2 separate regions of the Homo sapiens genome follow, and region 1 is linked to region 2. The links are contacts of gene promoters, found by promoter capture Hi-C in blood cells and fetal thymus (Javierre and others, 2016). All regions are on one chromosome and are shown on one strand. Each heading gives the region's core, a stretch centred on a gene start or on the middle of the fragment in contact. The rest is flanking DNA. Distances are from core to core; before and after follow the strand shown. Region 1 holds the start of UQCC3 (ubiquinol-cytochrome c reductase complex assembly factor 3). Region 2 holds the start of EEF1G (eukaryotic translation elongation factor 1 gamma).

What was found. The method cuts DNA at HindIII sites, captures the fragments that hold promoters and counts their contacts. A CHiCAGO score of 5 or more calls a contact.
Region 1: the fragment with the promoter of UQCC3 here is called in contact with the fragment with the promoter of EEF1G in region 2 in 11 of 17 cell types (total B cells, activated CD4 T cells, total CD8 T cells and 8 more); the score reaches 10.7 in total B cells.

Annotation. Positions count from the first base shown.
Region 1 is chr11:62,670,385-62,677,563 of GRCh38, reverse strand. UQCC3 (ubiquinol-cytochrome c reductase complex assembly factor 3) reads right to left here and starts at 5,891. Exons shown (of 2, transcript NM_001085372.3): 1 at 5,699-5,891; 2 at 3,878-5,611. The coding sequence starts at 5,818. The coding sequence ends at 5,450. LBHD1 (LBH domain containing 1) reads left to right here and starts at 5,297. Exons shown (of 7, transcript NM_024099.5): 1 at 5,297-6,000. It overlaps UBXN1 (UBX domain protein 1), which reads left to right. Exons shown (of 9, transcript NM_001286077.2): 7 at 1-46; 8 at 559-751; 9 at 925-1,064. The coding sequence ends at 974. RefSeq lists a silencer at 5,088-5,217 and enhancers at 5,458-5,617, 4,984-5,725, 5,726-6,465, 6,466-7,179. The HindIII fragment of the contact is 2,853 bases long and covers 4,233-7,085 here.
Region 2 is chr11:62,572,423-62,579,426 of GRCh38, reverse strand. It overlaps EEF1G (eukaryotic translation elongation factor 1 gamma), which reads left to right and starts at 5,536. Exons shown (of 10, transcript NM_001404.5): 1 at 5,536-5,596; 2 at 6,685-6,843. The coding sequence starts at 5,585. It overlaps TUT1 (terminal uridylyl transferase 1, U6 snRNA-specific), which reads left to right. Exons shown (of 9, transcript NM_022830.3): 5 at 397-866; 6 at 2,136-2,245; 7 at 2,410-2,520; 8 at 2,678-2,770; 9 at 3,183-4,375. The coding sequence ends at 4,333. RefSeq lists enhancers at 3,489-4,450, 4,608-4,667, 4,451-5,412, 5,368-5,567. The HindIII fragment of the contact is 8,528 bases long and covers 1-6,477 here.

The DNA of each region.
Region 1 (7,179 bases), core at 4,642-7,141, 98 kb before region 2:
CCAGGAGCCTCCCACCAAGCGGGAGTATGACCAGTGTCGCATACAGGTACTGATTCTAATTCTTATCTTCCTCTTGGGACCCCTTTGTTCCGTGTTAAGGTGCCCAGCTCAGAGCTTTTTTCAGTTAACGTGCCCTTTGCCAAATCTCTCCCTTCTTTGTAAATGACTTTTGAAATCCTATCTCTACTCTTGGGAAAGGTATCAAATTTCACCTGCCCCAGTTGTATTTAAACCCATACCTCTCTCTTACTCAGCAGTTACCCTTTTACTTGTTCATGTTTTTATTTGGTTTATTATGTAGCTATCTGGTGATGTGGTATTTATCCAGATTCTTTTGTATAATCTTATCCTTGTCTTTCTTAGGTTGTGAGGGAGCTGGGAGTCTCTCATCCGCACTTAGTAAAGCGGAGCCTAAGTGGCTGTTCATTTGGTGCTTTAAATAGTAGTTGTGCTGGTTCAATCTAAGAAGAAGGGGGCCCAGCTTTAGCTCTTTTCCTTACTTGGGCACCTCATTCAGTTTTGATGCCCACAATACTGAGTATCTCCCTTGCCCTTTAGGTCAGGCTGCCAGATGGGACCTCACTGACCCAGACGTTCCGGGCCCGGGAACAGCTGGCAGCTGTGAGGCTCTATGTGGAGCTCCACCGTGGGGAGGAACTAGGTGGGGGCCAGGACCCTGTGCAATTGCTCAGTGGCTTCCCCAGACGGGCCTTCTCAGAAGCTGACATGGAGCGGCCTCTGCAGGAGCTGGGTATGGCTGCAAGACTAGAAACCAGGACTAGAAACTGGGGGAGTAGGGAGGCATGCCTAGGAAAAGGAGGGATGCAAAGAGAAGGGGCTTTGTGAACATGGTGCAAGGCCAGGAATTTTGGGAGCAAAAACCAAGTATCCTTGTGGTTCAAGCCTGTTTTCTTCCATCTTCAGGACTCGTGCCTTCTGCTGTTCTCATTGTGGCCAAGAAATGTCCCAGCTGAGGGCCTTTGTCCCATTGTCCCTCTGTGACCCCTTCATCTTTGATAAAGCACTGACATCTCCTTCCTAATAAATAGACCCTGAGTTCTGTACATGCCTGACTCCTTCCTGAATGGCTGGGAGGGACAAAACTAAGGCAGAGGAAGAGGCTAAAACGGAACAGTAGACCCTCTTCCTCATCTTTAGTTTCCAACAAAGACACTTGTTTGTAATCTCTGGGTCTGATTAACTGCTGGGGAAGTTGCGGAGGAGAGGTGCTAAAAGGGGTGGAGAGTACATTGGATGGCACCTTTTACTCCTATGGTAAGACAGAAAATAAAAGCCCAGCTGCTGCTTTTTTATTTTTATTTTTGAGACGGAGTCTTGCACTGTTGCCTGGGCTAGAGTGCAGTGGCGCAATCTCAGCTCACTGCAACCTCTGCCTCCCAGGTTCAAGCGATTCTCCTGCCTCAGCCTCCCTAGTAGCTGGGATTACAGGCACCCACCACCACGCCCAGCTAATTTTTTCCATTTTTAGTAGAGACGGGGTTTTGCCATGTTGGCTAGGCTGGTCTCAAACTCCTGACCTTGTGATTCGCCTGCCTTGGCCTCCCAAAGTGCTGGGATTACAGGCATGAGCCACCACGCCCGGCCTGCTGCTTTATTTATTTATTTATTTATTTATTTATTGAGAACATGAGAGTGCCTTTTCATTTTAAAAATGTTTGGAAATATGCACAACTTTGATACAGCTTTGGGGTGCTCCAGACACCCATGGCCACTTCATGTAAACCACTGAGAATTTCTTTTTTTTTTTTTTTTTTGAAATGGAGTCTTGCTCTGTCACCCAAGCTGGAGTGCAGTGGCACAGTATTGGCTCACTGCAACCTCCGCCTCCTGAGTTCACGGGATTCTTCTGCCTCAGCCTCCCAAGTATCTGGGATTACAGGCGCGCACCACCATGCCCAGCTAATTTTTTGTATTTTTAGTAGAGTCAGCGTTTCACCATGATGGCCAAGCTGGTTTCAAACTCCTGACCTCAAGTGATCCACCCGCCTCGGCCTCCCAAAGTGCTAGGATTACAGGCGTGAGCCACCACGCCCGGCCACCACTGACAATTTTTAGAGTACTTTGAGAGACTATACAATATCATGATCAAATTTTGTAATTAAACCTAATGAGGACAACAGGCACTTCTCAAATAAGAGATGTGTCCATTACGGGGCTCCCCTACTCTTAAGGTACTCACAAGGAGGCAGATAAACAGTTTCTTTTTTTTTTTCCTTTGAGATGGAGTTTTGCTTTTGTTGCCCAGGCTGGAGTGCAATGGAGCGATCTCAGCTCACTGCAACCTCCACCTCCCGGGTTCAAGCGATTCTCCTGCCTTAGCCTCCTGAGTAGGTGGGGTTACAGGCATGCACCACCACGCCCAGCTAATTTTTTTTTTTTTTTTTTTTTAAGAGACAGGGTTTCACCTTGTTGGTCAGGTTGGTCTTGAACTCCTGACCTCAGATGATCCGCCCGCCTCTGCCTCCCAAAGTGCTGGGATTACAGTCTTGAGCCACTGTGCCTGGCCAGATAAACAGTTTCTTTATTCATCCTCCTCCTCTTCATCTTCCTCTTCCACCTTTTTCCAGGCAACTTTAGCAGGACCCTTTGCATCATCAAACCAACCTTTCTACTTATAGTCAGGAACATCCTTCTTATACTTTTCCTTCAGCTTTGCTACCTTAGTGATGTCATTTAAGTTATTTCACATCTCACCCAGAAAACCTAGCTTCTTAATAGAATAGGAATAGTGCCTATTTCTTGGGATTGTCATGAGGGTTACATAATGCTGGTATAAGATGCTTTAGCATAGTGCCTGGTACCTAATAAGTCCCCAGTAAGCATTAGCTACTAAAAGGATAATTTTATTTACTTATTTGAGGTGGAGTCTTGCTCTAGATCCCAGGCTGTAGTACAGTGGTGCAATCTCGGCTCATTATAACCAACGTCTGCCGGGTTCAAGCAATTCTGCCTCAGCCTCTCGAGTAGCTGGGATTGCAGGTGTGTGCCACCACACCCAGCTAATTCTTTGTATTTTTTAGTAGAGATGGGGTTTCACCATGTTGGCCAGGCTGGTCTTGAACTCCTGACCTCAAGATCCACCTGTCTCAGCCTCCCAAAATGCTGGGCTAAAAGGGTTTTGTTTTTTTGTTTTTTTTTTTTGAGACATCTCCTCACTCTGTTACCCAGGCTGGAGTGCAGTGGCACGATCTCGGCTCACCGTAACCTCTGCCTCCTGAGTTCAAGCGATTCTCCTGCCTCAGCCTCCCGAGTAGCTGGGACCACAGGCACGTGCCGCCATGCCCAGCTAATTTTTGTATTTTTAGTAGATACAGGGTCTCACCATGTTGGCGCTTCTCTCTGCTTTTTAAAACCAACCAAGAAGCACTGATGAGCTTATCTATGATAGTCCCTCTGGCTGCTGATCACCCCACCCTGCTGTCCTGTCAAACTGCTCCTGACTCCACTCCTTCCTGGACTAGGAGAAAGGCCACAGTTACTCTGTAAAGATCACATGTAACATGTGTTCCAGCAGCTGAAAAGAGCACCAATACTTATATCTGGGTTTACACCCCAGTGTTAGAAAGCTTTATTTGGGCCAGGCACGGCGGGTCATGCTTGTAATCCCAGCACTTTGGGAGGTTGAGGCGGGCAGATCACCTGAGGTCAGGAGTTCAAGACCAGCCTGGCCAACATGGTGAAACCCTGTATCTACTAAAAATACAAAGATTATCCTGGCATAGTGGCGCACCCCTGTAGTCCCAGCTACTGGAGAGGCTGAGGCAGGAGAATCGCTTGAACCCAGGAGGCGGAGGTTGCATTGAGTTGAGATCGCTCCATTGCACTCCAGCGTGGGCAACAACACAGAAATTCTGTCTCAAAAAAAAAAAAAAAGCTTTATTTGGTGTTCTGACTTTAATAACAGCAGCCTTTTTTTCAATTGCAGTCTTGCTTGGGAACCACAGGATAGACAAAAGAGGAGCAACTTGGTTGACTAGGCTGTGGGGCTTTGACCCCACTTATTTAATCCCCTCAGTGGCAGCTCCAATAAATCCTGACCAGATCCAGAGATTGGGGACCACTTTACATTTCTAAATTAATGTTTTACAATAATCCTCGTAGTTATGACCTTTCATAGAACAGGGCTGAGGTTTGTAACATGCTGGAGTTCAACCAGGATCTGTGACTCAAAGCACACTCCTTTTACTACTAGTAAGTCAGCCTCCTAAGCTTGTTTAACCAGAGGTTAAATAATGGCCACAGAAAGCATTGTGGCATATGTTAAGTGCTAGATGCCCCTCCAATCTCGCTCCAAGGACAGGAGTCCTGAGTGTCCACTATAGGCATCCATTACTTCAAGACTTCCCAGGATAGTTCAGATTTCAAGAATGTCCCACGGTTATCCCTGGAAGTACACTCCAACCTGACACCACATGACCTGTTTTGAAAATGTGGTTGGCCGGGCGCAGTGGCTCACGCCTCTAATCCCAGCACTTTGGGAGGCTGAGACGGGTGAACTGCCTGAGGTCAGGAGTTCGAGATCAGCCTGGCCACATGGTGAAACCCGCCTCTACTAAAACTACTAATATCAGCCGGGCGTGGTTGCGGACGCCTGTAATCCCAGCTACATGGGAGGCTGAGTAAGGAGAACAGCTTGAACCCAGGAGGCAGAGGTTGCAGTGAGCCAAGATTGCGCCACTGCACTCCTGCCTGGGTGACAAGAGCAAGACTCCATCTCAAAAAAAAGAAAAAATGTGGCCGCGGCAGGGCGAGGTGGTTCACGCCTGTAATCCCAGCCCTTTGGGAGGCCGAGGCGGGCGGATCACCTGGGTCTGGAGTTCGAGACCAGTCTAGCCAACATGGTGAACCCTGTCTCAACTAAAAACACAAAAGTTAGCTGGGCTTGGTGGCGCGCACTTGTGATCCCGGCTACTCGGGAAGCTGAGGCAGGAGAATTGCTGGAACCCAGGGGCGGAGGTTGCAGTGAGCCGAGATCGTGCCACTGCACTCCAGCCTGGGTGACATTGACTCCGTCTCAAAAAAAAAAAAAAAAAAAAAATGTGGTCAGATACCTATCGGGATCAGCCTCTTCTGGTGGGGTGGGACAGGCAGCAGCTCCAGGCCGCGCCCCCAGCACCGACCACGCGTCTCTAAGCATTGGTAGGTGTCGACTGCAGGGCTCATTCTGGGTGGAGGAACATGATTTTATTGGTTCTTTCAGTTCACCACATCCGACTCGCGTCTCGGCCCTGGCCCGCCTTGCGGACCTTAAAGCAGTCAGTCCAGGGTTTGGGGGAAACGTGCTCACCCGACGGCAGCTCACAGGACCCCGGAGAGTCCTGGCATGGTATCTCGGTCCGGACTCTCCGCTGGGCCCACGAAGGAGAAAGGCTGCCTCGGATTCCTGCGCCCAAGCCAAGGTCCGGCGCCCACGGAGGCAAGTCCGGTCTCACGGTGACCTCCCGCCGGCGCCGCCTTCGCCGCCAACCATCCAGTTCTTCCTCCAGGCCACGTTCTCCTGCGTGGTCGCTGCCTCCTGCAGAGTGGCCAGCAATAGCTGCTGGGTCCTGGCCGCCTCCTCCCTGCTCCTTGGGTCCTGCAGTGGCATCTCCTGAGGGCAGGAAGGGGAGTTCGCAGGAGCTCCAGTCCGGGGCTCTCCACCCGCCCACCCTTCCTCGGGACTACCAGTTGCTTCTACCTTTAGCATTTCCTGCTTCCGCCGCTCTCCCGGGGTCACGATAACGAGGAGCGCGTAGCCCACGCCAGCCCCTGCGCCCAGCATTGCGACTGAGATCAGCATTTTCCGCAAGGAATCCATGGCCGCCTGCACAGCCAGCGGAGCGCCCACGGGAGCTCCCCGCAGCCGCAAGCTGTTGCCGCGCGGTCTCACTACCCCTTGGCGCAGGCTAGAGCGCCCTATAGCAGAAACCATAGATAAGCGGCCGGCTAGAGAGGACCTGCTCGAGGAAACGTTTGGAATCCGGAGCGCTTGGATCTCAGGTTTAGCTGAGGGGGTTGAGGTGTCCAAGAAGTGCTGGCACCAAGGGCTGAGCGCGGGGACCCTGTGTCCTCAATTCCGGGGTGGGATTGCTAGGGGGAGAGTGCGTGTCTTCATGGTTGCCGTGGGTTTTATGATTGCCCATTTTTCTGTCTTCCGACGTTTCCCGATCAGTAGAGGCCCGAGCTGTGCTCTGTGGTTTCCTGCAGTCACCCGCGCGTTTTCAACACAGCGCATGGAGGGCATCTACACACATACACATCCCTCTCCATCCCCTCAACTCTGGAACAAACACTCAAAGTCAAGTATACTGGTTGGAGAAATGGGTAATAGTTACTTATCTTTAACATTTATTTTACAAACAACCTATTCCTTTTCTCGTCATGGTACACACTTGGTATTGTTTGGGTTTTTTTTTGGTTTTGTTGTTGTTGTTAGTGTGTGGGCGTGGTTTTGTTTGTTTTTGGAGACAAGGTCTCGCTCTGTCGCCCAGGGCTGGAGTGCAGTGGCGCGATCATGGCTCACTGAAGCCTCGACTTCCAGGGCCCAAGCGATCCTCCTGCCTCAACCTCCCGGATAGCTGGGATTACAGGCGTGCACCACCACGCCCGGCTGGTATTGCTTTTTGTTTTGCTTCGTTTTCTTTTTTGCTTTTTGAGACAGAGTCTCACTCTGTTGCCCAGCTGGAGTGCAGTGGCGTGATCTCGGCTCACTGCAAGCTCTGCCTCCCGGGTTCACGCCATTCTCCTGCCTCAGCCTCCCGAGTAGCTGGGACTACAGGCGCCCGCCACCACGGCCGGCTAATTTTTTGTATTTTTAGTAGAGAAAGAGTTTCACTATGTAGGTCAGGCTGGTCTCGAACTCCTGACCTCGTGATCCGCCCAATCCGCCCACCTCGGCCTCCCAAAGTGCTGGGATTACAGGTGTGAGCCACCGCGCCCGGCTGTTTTGCTTTGTTTTCAACCACTAAAAGGCTGGATTCGTGTAACATACTGAATTCTGCTTTACAGAAGAAAACACCTCTTAGCTGTGTGACTGATTATAGGCAAGTTCTTGTGCCCCGGTTTCTGCATCAGAAAATGAAGCTTATAACAACAGTACTTGTCTCACAGTTTTAGGATAATTAAATTAGTTATATGTAAAGCAATTAAAACAGCTCCTGCCAAAGAGTAAACACCATA
Region 2 (7,004 bases), core at 4,287-6,786:
CTAGTGTAAAGGTATTCTAGTGTATAACCACAGTACCATTATCAAGTTGAGGAAATGTTACATTGACACAGATGTAAACCTTTACAGACTTTACAGTCCATACTCTAATTTGGTCAGCTGTCCTGTCAATGGACTGTTACAGTTTCTCTTTCGTCTGTAATAGTTCCTCTGTTTTTGTCTTTCACGACAATGACATTTTTTGCAGAGGTAGACCTTTTATTTTATAGAATTAAAAGGTTATCTTTAAAAAAAAAAAGGGTTCCTGTGAAGATTAAATGAGTTAATATGTATAAAGACCTTAGAATAGAGCTGAATAAGCTGGAAGTAATATTATCTTGAGAGATCCCTGCTTAGGGAACAGCAGAAACATTTCACTCAGTTCATTTCTGTCCACAGCCAGTCCCAAAGGCTCCAGAATCTCCATCGCTGGACTCGGCCCTGGCTTCCCCACTGGACCCTCAAGCCCTGGCCTGCACCCCAGCTTCCCCTCCAGATTCACAACCTCCTGCTTCTCCCCAGGATTCTGAAGCCCTGGACTTTGAAACCCCTTCCTCCTCCCTGGCGCCCCAAACTCCGGACTCTGCCTTGGCCTCCGAGACCCTTGCTTCTCCCCAGTCTCTGCCTCCAGCTTCACCACTGCTAGAGGACAGGGAAGAGGGGGACCTGGGGAAGGCCTCGGAACTAGCAGAGACCCCAAAGGAGGAGAAAGCAGAGGGGGCAGCAATGCTGGAGCTGGTGGGATCCATTCTCCGGGGCTGTGTCCCTGGGGTGTATCGAGTCCAAACTGTGCCCTCTGCCCGGCGCCCTGTGGTCAAGTTCTGTCATCGGCCTTCAGGTCTCCACGGTGATGTCTCCCTCAGTAACCGGTACCTTTCTTTTTTTTGAGACGACATTTCACTCGTTGCCCAGGCTGGAGTACAGTGGTGCCATCTTGGCTCTCTGCAACCTCTGCCTCCCAGGTTGAAGTGATTCTCCTGCCTCAGCCTCCCAAGTAGCTGGGATTACAGGCATGCGCCACCACGCCTGGCTAATTTTGTATTTTTAGTAGAGACGGGGTTTCTCCATGTTGGTCAGGCTGGTCTTGAACTCCCGACCTCAGGTGATCACCTGCCTCGGCCTCCCAAAGTGCGGGGACTACAGGCGTGAGGCACCATACCTTTCTTTGGGGCAGGCCAGCTGAGAATTCTGGGATGGGCCAGGAGAGTCTGGCTTGGGAAACTCCTGCACCTGCCAAGTCTCAAGTTTGTCCTTGTTTGGGACCATCCCTCTTTCTGTCCCTTATCTCCTCCTGCCTGGCTTCCATTTCAGTGTTTGTAAAGTGTGTTCCTTAGAATACTACTTTTTTTTTTTTTTTTTTTTTTTTGTGAGACGGAGATTTACTCTTGTTGCCCAGGCTGGAGTGCAATGGTGCGATCTCAGCTCACTGGATCCTCTGCCTCCCAGGTTCAAGCGATTCTCCTGCCTCAGCCTCCCGAGTAGCTGGGATTACAGGCATGTGCCACCACACCCAGCTAATTTTGTATTTTTAGTAGAGATGGGATTTCGCTGTGTTGCCCAGGCTGATCTCGAACTCCTGACCTCAGGTGATCTGCCCGCCTCGGCCTCCCAAAGTGCTGGGATTACAGGCGTGAGGCACCGCGCCCTAGAATACTACTTTCAAGGGATGTAGAAAAGAGCTCTGCGTTGAATAAATTTGGGAAATTCAAAGTTAGATGCAAAAAGGTTTCTCCATTTCCTCCCTTCGCCCCTTGCCCTCTCTCCTTTCCTTCCTTCCTCTCTCTTTTCCTGTCTTTGTTTCTTTGCATAGTAAAGGCTCTGGGCAGTCTTTTTTTTTTTTTTTCTGACATGGGATGTTGCTCTGTCACCCAGGCTGGAGTGCAGTGGTGTGACCATGGCTCATGAACAGTCTTATAATAATGTGCTGTGAATGTCCAGGATGGGCGTACAGGATGAAGTGTTTCCCGAACTCCTTTGTCCTTTCGCACACTGTCTCACAAGATCAGTGAGCAACATTTGGGGAAACTGTTCTGGCCTTATTCCAGCTGGCTCCAGTTATGCAAGTCTGGAATGAAAGCTGGGGGTGGTAGGTTCTGACATCCCCAAGCGCTAACACCCTTGTCCCTGCTTTGTCCCAGGCTGGCCCTGCATAACTCCCGTTTCCTGAGTCTCTGCTCTGAGCTGGATGGTCGAGTCCGGCCCCTCGTGTACACCCTCCGCTGCTGGGCTCAGGGTCGGGGGCTGTCAGGTGAGAATGGATCAGGACAGACTTGGGGCTGAGTTGGTCTCAGGACAAAGGCAGGGATTCAGGGAGAGAAGGGAGGTCAGAATGGGCACCGGGGTTGAGAAAACTGCCAGTGAGGGGATTAGAAGCACCTCTGATCTAACCGGAATTATTGCTTATTTACCCAGGGAGTGGCCCCCTTCTCAGTAACTACGCCCTGACCTTGCTGGTGATCTATTTTCTTCAGACCAGGGACCCTCCTGTGTTGCCCACTGTGTCCCAGCTCACCCAGAAAGCAGGTACTCGGCCTAGCCTCCACCCTCTCCATCTTGTTAGTTTCCTCTCTCTTCTTCATCACACTTAGATACACCAAGCAGCTCTGTGAATGAGATCTCTCTACCCCCACCCTCAATCTCCTTGCTTCCAGACTGACTCTCACCTTATTTACTTTCACAGGAGAGGGGGAACAGGTGGAAGTCGATGGCTGGGACTGCAGTTTCCCCAGGGATGCCTCAAGACTGGAGCCCAGCATAAATGTGGAGCCCCTCAGTGAGTTTGGGGAGCCTGGTAGAGGACTAGTAATGATGTTCATCAACAGTAGGTAACATATATCACACTAACTGTGTGCCAGGCATGGTTCTCACAGAAAGCCTGTGAGATACCTAATATTATTACTGCCATTTTACAGATGAAGAAACCATGTTTGGGAGCAATTAAGTGACTTGCCCAAGGTTACACTGGCTAGCAAGGAGCAGCAGCATCTGGGCAAGGACATCATGTGGGGGCAGGGAGAGAGGTTTGACCTCTTGTTTATAGGGATCAGAGAAGCCTAGCTTCCTGGGACTCTGCTGAGCCCCTTGGAAGGGAAAAAGTCCTGCTAAGGAAATGGCTCTGGTGCAGGACCTGTATCAGTTCTGGCCTCTAAGTGACCCCCCTTTCCCCACTCTTCCTCCTCCTCCAGGTTCCCTGCTAGCCCAGTTCTTCTCCTGTGTATCTTGTTGGGATCTTCGTGGCTCCCTGCTGTCCCTGCGGGAGGGTCAGGCACTGCCTGTGGCAGGGGGCCTGCCTTCTAATCTCTGGGAGGGTCTGCGCCTTGGCCCCCTGAATCTCCAGGACCCTTTTGACCTGAGTCACAATGTCGCAGCCAATGTGACCAGCCGGGTGGCTGGGCGCCTACAGAACTGCTGCCGAGCAGCAGCCAATTACTGCCGAAGCCTCCAGTACCAGCGCCGTTCCTCCCGGGGTCGGGACTGGGGGCTGCTCCCTCTTCTGCAGCCCAGCTCCCCCAGCTCCCTGCTCTCTGCTACGCCGATCCCTTTACCCCTTGCACCCTTCACCCAGCTCACTGCTGCCCTGGTGCAGGTATTCAGGGAAGCACTGGGGTGCCATATAGAACAGGCAACCAAGAGAACGCGGTCAGAAGGAGGTGGAACTGGGGAGTCCTCTCAGGGAGGGACAAGCAAAAGACTCAAAGTAGATGGACAGAAAAACTGCTGTGAGGAGGGGAAAGAGGAGCAGCAGGGATGTGCAGGGGACGGTGGGGAAGACAGGGTAGAAGAGATGGTTATAGAGGTTGGAGAGATGGTGCAGGACTGGGCCATGCAGAGCCCTGGGCAGCCAGGGGACCTGCCCCTGACCACTGGAAAGCATGGAGCCCCTGGAGAAGAGGGGCAGCCCAGCCACGCAGCCCTGGCAGAGCGGGGGCCCAAGGGACATGAGGCAGCCCAAGAATGGTCTCAGGGTGAGGCAGGGAAGGGGGCATCCCTGCCCTCCTCAGCGAGCTGGCGCTGTGCCTTGTGGCACCGAGTGTGGCAAGGGCGGCGGCGAGCCCGTAGACGCTTGCAGCAGCAAACCAAGGAGGGAGCTGGAGGTGGCGCTGGCACAAGAGCAGGGTGGCTGGCGACTGAGGCTCAGGTCACCCAGGAGCTGAAAGGACTGAGTGGTGGCGAAGAGAGGCCAGAAACTGAGCCCCTGCTGAGCTTTGTGGCGTCTGTCTCCCCGGCTGACCGAATGCTCACTGTGACCCCGCTCCAGGATCCCCAAGGCCTGTTCCCTGATCTCCATCATTTCTTACAGGTTTTCCTCCCTCAAGCAATTCGACATCTCAAGTGAAGACATGGCCCCTGAAGGGCAATAAAGCTGCTAGTTTATTAATACAGTCTCCCGTTTCCTTTCATTTCCATCTGGTCATAATCCCCCTTCCCCTCCCCCAGAACTTCCTGCAGCTGCTCCCGTCTGACCCCGAACATGGGTCTCTCCCTGTTGCTCTCCACCCCACCAGCTTCTCCTTCCTACAGTTCGCACAGCTCGAGGGGAGTGCGGGGGCAGCACCGCGCGTGGCACCTGGCACCCGCGCAGAGTTCCTGAATGGCAGAGCGGTGGGTGGCTCCAGCAGTACTGAGAAGAGCCAGGTTTGCCTCCACATTCTTCCTGTCGCCTCAGATTTATGCGCACAAGGACGGAGATTTGCGTTCAGCGTTCTTCATTCTCTCCTTTAAACGAGGAGAGTTCATCCCGTTCTTAAACTGGGTAAGAGATTTCAAACCTGAACATGGGTCAAAAGCCATGAACATCAGAAGCGACGATGTCAGGTCTTCCAGCGTCAGCCCCTCCAGGGGCCGAGTCCGGAGGAGGTGGGAGGGACAGGGCGCGTTCTCCCTCATGTCCCTGCCCTGCTTCGGGCCGGAGGGCCGGTGCCCTGCTCGCAGTAACAGCACCCTGGAGCTGTCAGGGGTTGGATGTGAGCAAACCTCACTTTGGCAGGCGGGTTCAGACCGGGGCCCCTGTTAGACGCTCATCCCTTTCTGGAGGAAAAGCAGAGCAGGAACTAAAGGGATTTAGCACACACACTGCCACCTCCGCGCAGCAGCTGTTCCTCGCTCCCATGAGTTTCATAGAATCATGTGAGGGGCTTGGCAAAATCTACCATCAAGTCACTTGTCCCTGGGAGGGCCAGAGAGGGACGCCCCCAGTAGCACTGGCCGCGCCGGGCCAACAACCGCGCCACGTAGCCAAGAACTCGCGGCTTTTCCAGCGGGTTCTCACAACTTCCCCGCCCTCCACGCTGTCTACCTCCACGTCTAGACTCCGATTGGCCCGCTGCACCTGGGGGGCGGGCCAGTCAAGAGCTCCAATGCGCAGGCCCGAGCTTTTTCCGCGCTGGCCAGCAGGCCCCACCCACCCAGTTCTTTTTCCAATTCAGCGCCACTGGATACCGAACTGTCGTACGTATGTCTTCTGTTTCGTCCTCGCTTTCCGGCTGCTGTTTCTCCACGGCTCTCCTCTTTCCCCCTCCCTTCTCTCCCGGGCGGCTTACTTTGCGGCAGCGCCGAGAACCCCACCCCCTTTCTTTGCGGAATCACCATGGCGGCTGGGGTAAGTTTGCTGGCTCTGGTGGTTCGGGTCATCCTATCCACCGCCATCCTTTGCCCGAGTGGGGCCAGTCGGCGCCAGAGGAGTTCTGAGGTTGAGTGGGGAACTGATTCGGGGGTCTACAGACTGTACTGCTGGAGAGTAGGGTTCCTAGGGCCTGGAGGGGAACTGAGGCTGGGGCTCTCGGAGGCCAGAGGTGGAAGGGTCTGGGGAAGAGGAGAAAAGAGATGCCGGGTCTGGGCCGTCCGAAGCCTGAGAAAGGGGTTCGGCTCTGTTGCCGCTTTGAGGCGTGGTATCTGGGCAGGTTGACGAACTTCTGTGTCCGTTTTGTGGAGTAACACAGGGGACAGGTTGAAGAGGAGGGTCTTTGTAGGCAGGTCCGGCTGGCACGGTTAAAGGTCGTCTCTCAGGGAGGTTTGGGAGCGAGAGGATTCTCCGGACAGTGAAGTCAGACCAATTGGACTCCGCTGGCCGGCATAATAGAGAAGCCCAACGCCGGGGAACTCGCTGCGGGACAGGACCGGAGGGATGATATTCGCGACACGGAAAGAAAGGCTTTTTGAGAGAGAGGAGTTGATTTAAGAAGACGGCATGCCATCCCCTATCTCTGGCTAGTCTGAGGGGAACTAGAAATCTCTCGATCGTCGTGCGTGCCTTAGAGACAGGACGATGCTTTTGAAGCGGTGAGCAGCTGAGCAGTAGAGTAGGCAGGCGCTCGGAACCATCAATGAATGAAGCGAGGGCTCCGGGAAGGGAGGAGAGTATGTTTGTAGGCAGATGGAGTCTGATGGAGCTAGAAGTTCTGGATTTCTTGGAGATAGATTTGAGAGGAAGAGAATACTTCCAGAGGTGTCCTTAGGGAAGGTCAAATCTGTCAACAAGCTTTATTTAGCAGTTGGTGTGTAGTTCTGTTCTTGGTATTTCGGAGGATTCTGATTACATATGACAAGTACTAAAGGACTTGGTTCACCAGAGGAAGTAAAAGGGTGAGTTGAATACATTGGGATTATTCAGGAAAGTCATCCTGGAGAGTGGCATTAAGGACTGGGACCCTTCTACTCATTAATTTTGTCCCTCTCTTTCTCCCATAGACCCTGTACACGTATCCTGAAAACTGGAGGGCCTTCAAGGCTCTCATCGCTGCTCAGTACAGCGGGGCTCAGGTCCGCGTGCTCTCCGCACCACCCCACTTCCATTTTGGCCAAACCAACCGCACCCCTGAATTTCTCCGCAAATTTCCTGCCGGCAAGGTGAGTTGGGAGATGGGGAGCATCCTTCGGTTCTGAGAAACCAAGGCCCTGCGATTCTGTCACTCTGGTGGTGGCCCCCATCTCTAAAAGGGAGCTTCCCATGTTGTTTTATTCAATTTCGGTGATTTTATTTTGAGATAAATACAGATTTACATGTAGTT